Regions from separate parts of the Homo sapiens genome. Here region 1 is linked to region 2. The links are contacts of gene promoters, found by promoter capture Hi-C in human tissues and cell types (Jung and others, 2019). All regions are on one chromosome and are shown on one strand. Each heading gives the region's core, a stretch centred on a gene start or on the middle of the fragment in contact. The rest is flanking DNA. Distances are from core to core; before and after follow the strand shown. Region 1 has its middle 26 kb from the start of AQP8. Region 2 holds the start of SLC5A11 (solute carrier family 5 member 11).

Region 1 (4,769 bases), core at 1,618-4,117, 340 kb before region 2:
TGCTTTTTATTTTAAAGATAAGATTTTATAAAAATTCTAAAGCAGCTATAGATGAAAAAAAGCCGACACACACACAATGATAAAAGACAGAAAGTCAACTAGGAAAATATTTGCCACACATATGACAGACATAGTTCTAATTAATTTCTTAACTGACAAAGAGTATTCATATATTATTAAGAAAAGGACAACCCCAGCCGGGCACGGTGGCTCATGCCTGTAATCCCAGCACTTTGGGAGGCCGAGGCAGGCGAATCACGAGGTCAGGAGATCGAGACCATCCTGGCTAACATGGTGAAACCCCGTCTCTACTAAAAATATAAAAAAATTAGCCGGGTGTGGTGGCGGGCACCTGTAGTCCCAGCTACTCAGGAGGCTGAGGCAGGAAAATGGTGTGAACCCGGGAGGCGGAGCTTGCAGTGAGCCAAGATCGCTCCACTGCACTCTAGCCTGGGTGACAGAGCAAGACTCCGACTCAAAAAAAAAAAAAAAATCCAAATGTAATAGAAAAATGCAATCACAAAGGTAACTTTGAACAAACATTTCTGAATAATTCTGTATTCTAACTTATGAGTACAAGAAAATGTTGGTATGCTATTTGTACTTTTTTTTTTTTTTTGAGACGGAGTCTCACTCTGTCACCCAGGCTGGAGTGCAGTGGTGCGATCTCATCTCACTGCAACCTCTGCCTGCCAGGTTCAAGCCATTCTCCTGCCTCAGCCTCCTGAGTAGCTGGGGCTACAAGCGTGCACCGCCACACCCGGCTAATTTTTGTATTTTTAGTAGAGACGGGATTTCACCATATTGGTCAGGCTGGTCTCGAACTCCTGACCTCATGATCTGCCTACCTCAAGCCTCCCAAAGTGATGGGATTACAGGCTTGAGCCACTGTGCCCAGCCGCCTGGCTAATTTTTGTATTTTTTAGTAGAGACAGGGTTTCAACATGTTGGCCAGGCTGGTCTCGAACTCCTGACTTCAAGTGATCCACCCACCTTGGCTTCCCAAAGTGCTGGGATTACAGGCGTGAGCCACCATTCCCGGTTCAGTCCTTCCAGATTTTCTAAATTCTACTCTGTCATTAAATCCAGCTTCCCAGAGCTAAATAATCAGACCGCATTGCTTTGGCCTCATAGAATCACCTTCATGGAATTTCACTTCGGCATTAAGTCATCAGTTGCATCCAAGGACCCTGGGGCATCAGCTACAAACCCAGGTCCACGAACATGCGAATCACAGGGATCTCACTGAGGGTTTCTGGGTGAAGCTTCTCCAGGGTCTCCTGCAGGAACAGCTGTGCCTCTCTTGAGCATGTGGCTGGCTGTAATTTTATGGAAACTGAATCATGTTTCAATCCTTGAGAGGGAGGACTTGGGGGAAGTCAAATTTATGGCCCACTTCCAGCATCTATGCGAGACAATGAAATGTGCACATCCGTGGGCTAATAACTCCTGGCATTTAAAACAAAACAAAATGAACAAACAAAAAAAGCCTCATGTTCAAACTTCCCCGAGCATTTGTTTGTTTGTTTGTTTTTCTGTTGTATAGTTTTTTTTGTTTTTTTGTTTTGTTTTGAGACAGTCTCGCTCTGTCGCCAGGCTGGAGTGTGGTGGCACAATCTCAGCTCACTGCAACCTCCATCTCCTGGGTTCAAGTGATTCTCCTGCTTCAGTCTCCTGAGTAGCTGGATTACAGGCAGTAGCCACCACCCCCGGCTAATTTTTTGTATTTTTAGTAGAGATGGGGTTTCACCATGTTGGCCAGGATGGTGTCGATCTCTTGACCTTGTGATCCGCCTGCCTCAGCCTCCCAAAATGCTGGGACTACAGGAGTGAGCCACCATGCCCATCCTGTTGCTGTAGTTTTATCAGGTATCTCAATTCCCCTTGTAGAACAAGGAGGGATATAAAGAAATAAACCAAAATATAAATATATCTCCTGCCCATAACAGATGCTTTATTCATGATCAGATATCCACTTCTCCCACCCAAAAATGAAAGGCATAAAAGCCTCTAAGATGGAATCCCTTGAGTCAGGAGTTTGAGGATGCAGAAAGCTGTGATTATGCCACCGCACTCCAGCCTGGGTGAGACAGTGAGACCCCATCTCTTAAGAAAACAAAACAAAAAATAACAATAAGATGAAAAAATATCGTTTGACCCTGCCTCAAACTTCATAAATTTTCTGACGTTATAGAAACCTATTCTCAGCTGGGCACGGTGGCTCACGCCTGTAATCCCAGCACTTTGGAAGGCCAAGGAGGGCAGATCACTTGAGGTCAGGAGTTCGAGACCAGCCTGATCAATATGGTGAAACCCCATCTCTACTAATTATACAAAAATTAGTCAGGCATGGTGGTTGGCACCTGTAATTCCAGCTACTCGGGAGACTGAGGCAGGAGAATCGCTTGAACCTGGGAGGAGGAGGTTTTGGTGAGCTGAGATTGCGCCACTGCATTCCAGCCTGGGCAACAGAGGGAGACTCTGTCTCAAAACAAAACAAAACACAAAACAAACCAATTCTCTGCACGCTACAGTGAACACAACCAAAATGACTTCACACTGGGTAGCCGATGATCTAAAAGTCCTGTGTATTTTGCCCATCTTGTATTATAAAAGCTCGAAAGCCAGATATTCTATTTCCCACCGTCTCTTCCAAATAGATTTAGTTCTAGGGTTGCCAGATTTAGCAAAAAAAAAAAAAAAAAAATACAGAACGCCCAGTTAATTTGAATTTCAGGTAAACAACACATAATGTTTTTAGTGTAAGTATACTGCAAATTTCAGGTAAACAACACATTATTTCTTTAGTGTATGCATGTGCCAAATATTACATGGGTCCCAGTTATATATTTTTTTAATTATGTGTTCTTTACTGAAATTCTATTTAACTGGGCATTCTGTATTTCATTTGGCAACCCTACCCAGTTCTTAGCATGAGATACAGAGGGAAGTCTATTAGGCATATTTGGGAACAATTTTATTCTGGATAAAAAAGACAGAAACCACTGAAAAAAAAAAAAGACCCATCTTTTTTCCTGCCATGAATGCAGTTATGATGCCTGGCACTCTGGGAGCTACTTTGTGATCATGAGGCAACAAGCTGAAGATGAAAAGTCAACATGCTGTCCAGGCGCAGTGGCTCACCCCTGTAATCCCAGCACTTTGGGAGGCCGAGGCAGGTGGATCACTTGAAGCCAGCAGTTCGAGACCAGCCTGACCAACAGGGTGAAATCCCATCTCTACTGAAAAATAAAACAAAACACACACAGAAAAAACAATGAAAATTAGCTGGGCATGCTGACGCATGCCTATAATCCCAGCTACTCAGGAAGTTGAGGCACTTGAATCATGTTTCAATCCTTGAGAGGACTTGGGGGGAAGTCAAATTTGTGGTCTACTTCCAGCATCTGTGCGAGACAATAAAATGTGCACATCTGTGGGTAATATAACTCACCGATTATATTAGGGAGGCAGAGGTTGCAGTGAGCCAAGATCACGCCACTGCACTCCAGCCTGGGCGAGAGAGTGAGACCCTGTCTCCAAAAAAAGAAAAAAAGTCAACATGCCAAGGAAGACAGAGCAGAAGGCATGAATCCAAGCTCTTGGTGGCATTCATCAATTAATGGCGTATTCCTGAAACCATTTAGATAGTGCATTTCAAAAGCCGTTTCTGCAACTAAGTATTCAAAAGCCTCACTAAGAACTGTAAGACTTTTGAGGAGAGGGTCATTCTTCATCAACAGCATCAAGGGGTGCCCAGAAAAGGAGAAATAAGCCAACCTGACAAATGGGAAGAAATGAGACCCCACACCTTCATGTAATGGTGGTGCTGGGGGAAAAGAAAAAGATTTTATGTGCTATTAAGGGCAGGGAGAAAGGAGACACATATAACATAGCAGTCAAAAGCACAGGCTCTAAAGCCAACCTGCCTGGTTTCAAATTCAGTTCCATCATTGATTGGCTGTATGACCTTGGACAAATTACACAATTTCCACATACCCTTATTTCCTCATGTTTAAAATGAGAATAAGGCTGGGCACAGTGACTCACGCCTGTAATCCGAACACTTTGGGAGGCCAAAGCAAGAGGACGGCGTGAGCCCAGGAGTTCAAGACAAACCTGGGCAACACGGTGAGACCCCATCTATACAAAATATAAAAAATCAGTCAGGCATGGTGGCATATGCCTGTAGTCCTAGCTAATTAGACTTGGGAGGTTGAGGTGGGAGGATCCGTTGAGCCCAAAGTGGTTGCAATGAGCTGCGATTATGCCACTGCGCTCCAACATGGGTGACAGGAGTGAGGCCCGGTCTCAAAAAAAAGTGAGGATTAAAACAAACTGACGTGGAGTTGTTATAGGGACGGAATAAATTAACACAAGCAATTAGAAGCACAAATATGCAATTGGTTAGTAATGACGGAAGACACGGGTATACAGGCATGCTCTCTTGCGAATGCGAATCCATCTGCCTAGGGGACTTTGTATGACAGTCTCAGGAAAGCTTCCTCGGCCAGCTTAAATGGAAAAGCTGCTTCTCTTTTTTTCTTTTTCTTTTTCTTTGAGACGGAGTCTTGCTCTGTTGCCCAGGCTGGAGTGCAGTGGTGCGATCTCAGTTCACTGAGAGCTCAACCTCCGCTTCCTGGGTTCAAGTGATTCTCGTGCCTCAGCCTCCTGAGTACCTGGGATGACAGGTGTGCGTCACCATGCCGCGCTAAGGCTAGTTTTGTTGTTGTTGTTGTTTTTGAGGCAGAGTCTCACTCTGTCGCCAG
Region 2 (4,779 bases), core at 1,785-4,284:
CCCAGAATCTATTCACTCCCAATTCCATTCTCTCTTACTTCCAAAACATAATAAATCCACACATTTTCCCTCATTTTTAGTGCTATCACCCTTGTCTGAGCCACCATCACTTCTGTCTAGGTTAGAGAAAGACCCTCCAGTCTTACCTCCCCGATATCCATTCTTCCTTCCTTTTTATTTTATTATTTTATTTTTGTTTTAATTTACTTAATTTTTAGAGACAGGGTCTTGTTCCCTTGACCAAGCCGCAGTGCAATGGTGCCATCAGAGCTCACTGTGGCCTCAAACTCTCGAACATCTGTGCTCAAGGGATCCTCCCACCTCCGTCTCCCAAGTAGGTGGGACCACAGGTACATGCCAACATGCCTAGCTAATTTTTTATTTTTTGAGACAGGGTTTCACTCTGTTGCCTGGGCTAAAGTGCAGTGACACAAACACAGCTCCTGCAGCCTCAACCCCATGGGCTCAAATGATCCCTGCACAGTGCTGGGATTACAGGTGTGAGCCACCATGCCTGGCCTCCAGCTAACTTCTTATTTTGTAATTTTTTTGTAGAGACGGGGTCTTGCTATGTTGCCCAGACGGGTCTCAAACTCCAGGCCTCAAGCAATCCTCCCAACTTGGCCTCCCAAAGCACTGAGGTTGCAGGCATGAGCCACCTCACCCAGCCTTGCTTCCTTTTAATCCGCCCCTCACACGGAAGCCAGAGAAATCTTTAAGTATGAGTCAGATCAGATCATTTTCCTGCTCAAAACATCTCCATGCTGCTGGGGTGCTTTGTTGTGCTTCCAACCCCACCACATACTAGCATTCATTTTATTCCTGGAACACGATTTCTGGCCTCAGGGTCTTTGCCATTCTGTTCCCTCTGCCTGGGATGCTCTTCCCTGCACTCTTTGCTGGACAAGCTCCTACTCATCCTTTAGATGTCAGCCTGCTGTATATCCCCAAAGGAGCCCCCTCTTGGCCTCAATATAAATTGGGTCCCCAAGCTTTTTGCTTTCATGGCAAACACAACTTCTCATCACAGTCTAATCAAGTGTAACACTTGATGTGTGTGATTACCCCTTGTCTGCACTGCACAGCAAGCCCCATAAAGAAAGGTCCATGTCTCTGTCACTCTCATTGTGTCCCCAAAACAGGCATGCAATAAATGTTGGTACAACAAATAAATGTGGGATTTTTAGAGCCTTTGCTATAGATCCTTTGCACGCTGTGACCGCCCAAAAAAGGGACAGCATTTTTCCAAGTCCTATCTGCAGGATGCCCAATGGGCTAGGACACTTCTGTCAACTATTGCCCAGAATAATTCAGCAGAACACCATTTGAAAACCACTGATTGGTAGGGTGCAGTGGCTCATGCCTGTAATCCCAGCACTTTGCAAGGCTGAGGCGGGAGAATCGCTTGAGTTCAGGAGATTGAGACCAGCCAAGGCAACACAGGGAGACCCCATTTGTACAAAAAATAAAAATAAAAAAGTTAGCAGGGCATGCTGGTGAGCTATGATAGTACTACATTTCAGCCTGGGCAACACAGAGAGACCCTGTGAAAGAAAAGACAGAAAAGAAACGAGAGAGAGAGAGAACAGAAAACACACACAGAGAGAGAGAGGAGGCAAAGAAGGAAAGAAGGAAGGAGAAAGGGAAAGAAAGGAAGAAATAAATAATAAAAGAGAGAGAAGAAAGAAAGAAAGAAAGAAAAAAGGGAAAAGAAAGAGAAACAGAGAGGTGGGAGGGAGGGAAGGAAGGAAAGAAGGAAGGAGAAAGAAAGGGAAAGAAAGGAATAAGGAAAGAAATAAAAGAAAGAAGGAAAGAAAGAAAGAACAAAGAAAAGAAAGGAAAAGAAAGAAAAAGAAAGAAAGAGAAAAAGAAAGAAAGGAAAGAAAAAGAAAATCACTGATATTGTGGCTGAGCTCATGGCCACAGGAATTGAGTCTTGGCTTGGCCACTCACTATCTGTATTACCTTGAGCAAGTTATTTAATGACCCTTAGACTCTGTCCATGAATTAGGGGGTGCTGTACCTACCTTACAGGGTTTCTGTGTCAGTTAGATGAGATCCAGGCGTAAAGTTCTCTGCACGTGTCTGACACGTACCAGTGAAGACTTGTATTTGCCTTGTAGTTAACAGCAGCTGCAGTTGTAGTAAATACATTCCTATAGCTTTTTAATGCTTATGTGGATACATTTACCTTCGTTATCTCTGGGTAACACACCTGTGGGGTGGGTCAGCCTGAGGTTCATATTCCCATTTGACAGATAAGGAACCTGAGACTCGGTGAGGCAAAATGTTTGGCTCAATGTCCCTGACCTTGGTTAAGTGGAAGAGCTGGGACCCACGTACGGTGCTGCTGGCTGCCGGCTGCTGGCTTCATACCACCATGCCCACCCCACAAACACACTCCATTGTCCTGGTGTATGACAAGCTTTCTCTGCAGAGAGGGCTGAGCTTCCCCTGCCCCACAGGTGACAGCTGGAGTCCTTCTGCCAGCACCTGTCCCCAGACCAACTTCCCAGTTTGGAGAGTGGCTACCTGTTTGGGGGCAGGGGGTGTCTTACCTTATTCCAGATGCAGGGCTCACCTGCCCTGGGGGCTGTCAGTGGCTTCTAAGGCACTAGGAGGTGGCGGTGGTTGTAAGGAGGGAGATACCCGGGATCCTCTCTCTTTGCAGCCAAGAGCTTCCGGAGACAGCAGTGACCCTTCCTCCTATATGCCCGCTGCTGAGAGAGCCTCCAAGCGGGTCAAACTCCAAACTCCAGCCTCAGCTGCAGCGGGGATTAAAGGAAGCGTGAATGATCTCCCCAGGGCAGAAGAGAGAACGGGGCCCAGCCCAGGACCCTTGAACTCTGAGCAGGTGGGGAAGGTGACATGTCCCACGCTCTGCCCACACCGTCCTCCACCAGGGTCCTCACCTGCGTGGGGACCCATGGCATGGAGGGGTTGGGGAGACGCTGGAGCCCAAGGCACCATCCTGCTTCACTCACCCAGTCTTCCACTGTCCCGCCTCCACGCTGGGGACAGGCAGGCTTGGGACGAGCTGGAGGAAGGGGAGGGGAGGAAAAATGCTGGCGGCGGATGGAGGGGACAGAGGCAAAGTGCCAGGAGGGACGTCCAGCCACAGCCCTCACCGCAGTGGCAGCAACAGGAACAGCAACCATTGCTTGTGCAACCCCTTTCCATATACTCTTCAGACAGAGGCATGGCAAAGAACAGGTGTCTGCCTGAAGTCGAGAGTTCGAGACCAGCCTGACCAACATGGAGAAACCCCATCTCTACTAAAAATACAAAGTTAGCCGGGTATGGTGGTGCATGCCTGTGGTCCCAGCTACTCGGGAGGCTGAGGCAGGAGAATCACTTGAATCCGGGAGGCGGAGGTTGTGGTGAGCCGAGATTACACCATTGCACTCCAGCCTGGGCAACAAGAGCGAAAATCAGTCTCAAAAAAAGAAGAAGAAGAAGAAGAAGAGGTGTCTGAGGCCCTGAAAAACCGTCAGGAGTGACCGAGCCATGGCCAGGCGCCCACATCGGGCCCAGGACATCAGCGGGGCATAGCGAAGATTTCTGCCAGATGCTCAAAGCATCCAAAACTTTATTTACTTTTTATTTCTGAGACAGGATCTCACTCTGTCACCCAGGCTGGAGTGCAGTGGTGGCATCACAGCTTGCTGCAGGCTCATCCTCCTGGGCTCAAGTGATCCTCCCACCACAGCCTCCCGAGTAGCTGGGACTACAGGCGTGCACCACCACACCCAGCTAATTTTTTCATTTTTTTGGTAGAGAGAGAATCTTGCTATGTTGCCCAGGCTGGTCTCCAACTCCTGGGTTTAAGTGATCCTCCCACCTTGGCCTCCCAAAGTGCTGGGATTACAGGGGTCAAACACTGTGCCAGGCCAAATACCAAAACATTTTAAAAATAGTTACTAGTATTTGCAAACCAAGAGGCTTGAAACATAATTCTAGAATACTCACTTTTCTAGAACAACCTGAAGATCTGGCCTCACCAGGCCCCCATGGCCACAGGACAGCTGCTGACTGGGGAGGAGTCGTGGCCTCCCCATCTCACTCCTTCACTGGGCCTGCCAGGCTCTGGGGGGCCCTCAGCTGAGGCCCCTGTCCTGGCACCGAGTAGCCAGAAATAATAGCAGTGATGAACACGTGCCAGGCTCTAAGGGCACAACATGCCTTTACTCACTTGGTCTTTCCAACAACCCTCGAAGTTAGGTCCTGTTATCTCTATCTTACTGACGAGGTAACAGAGGTAGAGGAGATGAGTCATCGGCCCAGGATCACCCGGGTTGTAAGTGACACAGCAAGATTTCAGCCCAGGCCACCTGGCTCTAGAGTCCTGCAGGAGCAGTGGAGGGTGGCTTGACTGGATAAAGGGTGGCCTGGGTGAGCAAACACTGGGTGACTGACCAACACCAGTATGAATGGGGCCTTTGGGGGAGGGACCTGCCCTGGGGGACAGATTTACAGAAGGAACAGCTGGGATTGGAGAAGAGGGACAGACAGAAGGCCATGAATCTGTGATCTGCAGCAGAGGCCACAGCACCAGGAAAGGCAGTGGGGTGCCACCGAGGGTGCACTGCTTCGCCAACCTGGGGTCCAGTCCTGACTTCTTGGGAATGTCTGGGGAGCCTTAGCCATGTGCAGGGTGTCTACAGAAGAGGCGTGGTAGTGAGTGAAGCCGGGCAGGTGGAGCTGAGGCTGACCCGAGAGCATGTGTCCCAGCTGAAGAGGACAGCCACGACCCAGCTCCACGTGGGGGAAGACAGGCCC

Evidence for each region. Contacts are between HindIII fragments. The study calls those that stand out against the background at their distance.
Region 1: a fragment that was not itself captured here is called in contact with the fragment with the promoter of SLC5A11 in region 2 in 3 of the 25 tissues and cell types used here (aorta, spleen and thymus).

The regions. Positions count from the first base shown.
Region 1 is chr16:25,188,782-25,193,550 of GRCh38, reverse strand. No RefSeq gene overlaps it. Among named protein-coding and RNA genes, the nearest start is that of AQP8, 26 kb to the left of the region's middle. The HindIII fragment of the contact is 5,749 bases long and covers 1-4,769 here.
Region 2 is chr16:24,844,218-24,848,996 of GRCh38, reverse strand. It overlaps SLC5A11 (solute carrier family 5 member 11), which reads right to left and starts at 3,034. Exons shown (of 17, transcript NM_001352248.3): 1 at 2,985-3,034; 2 at 2,559-2,765. The HindIII fragment of the contact is 12,271 bases long and covers 1,710-4,779 here.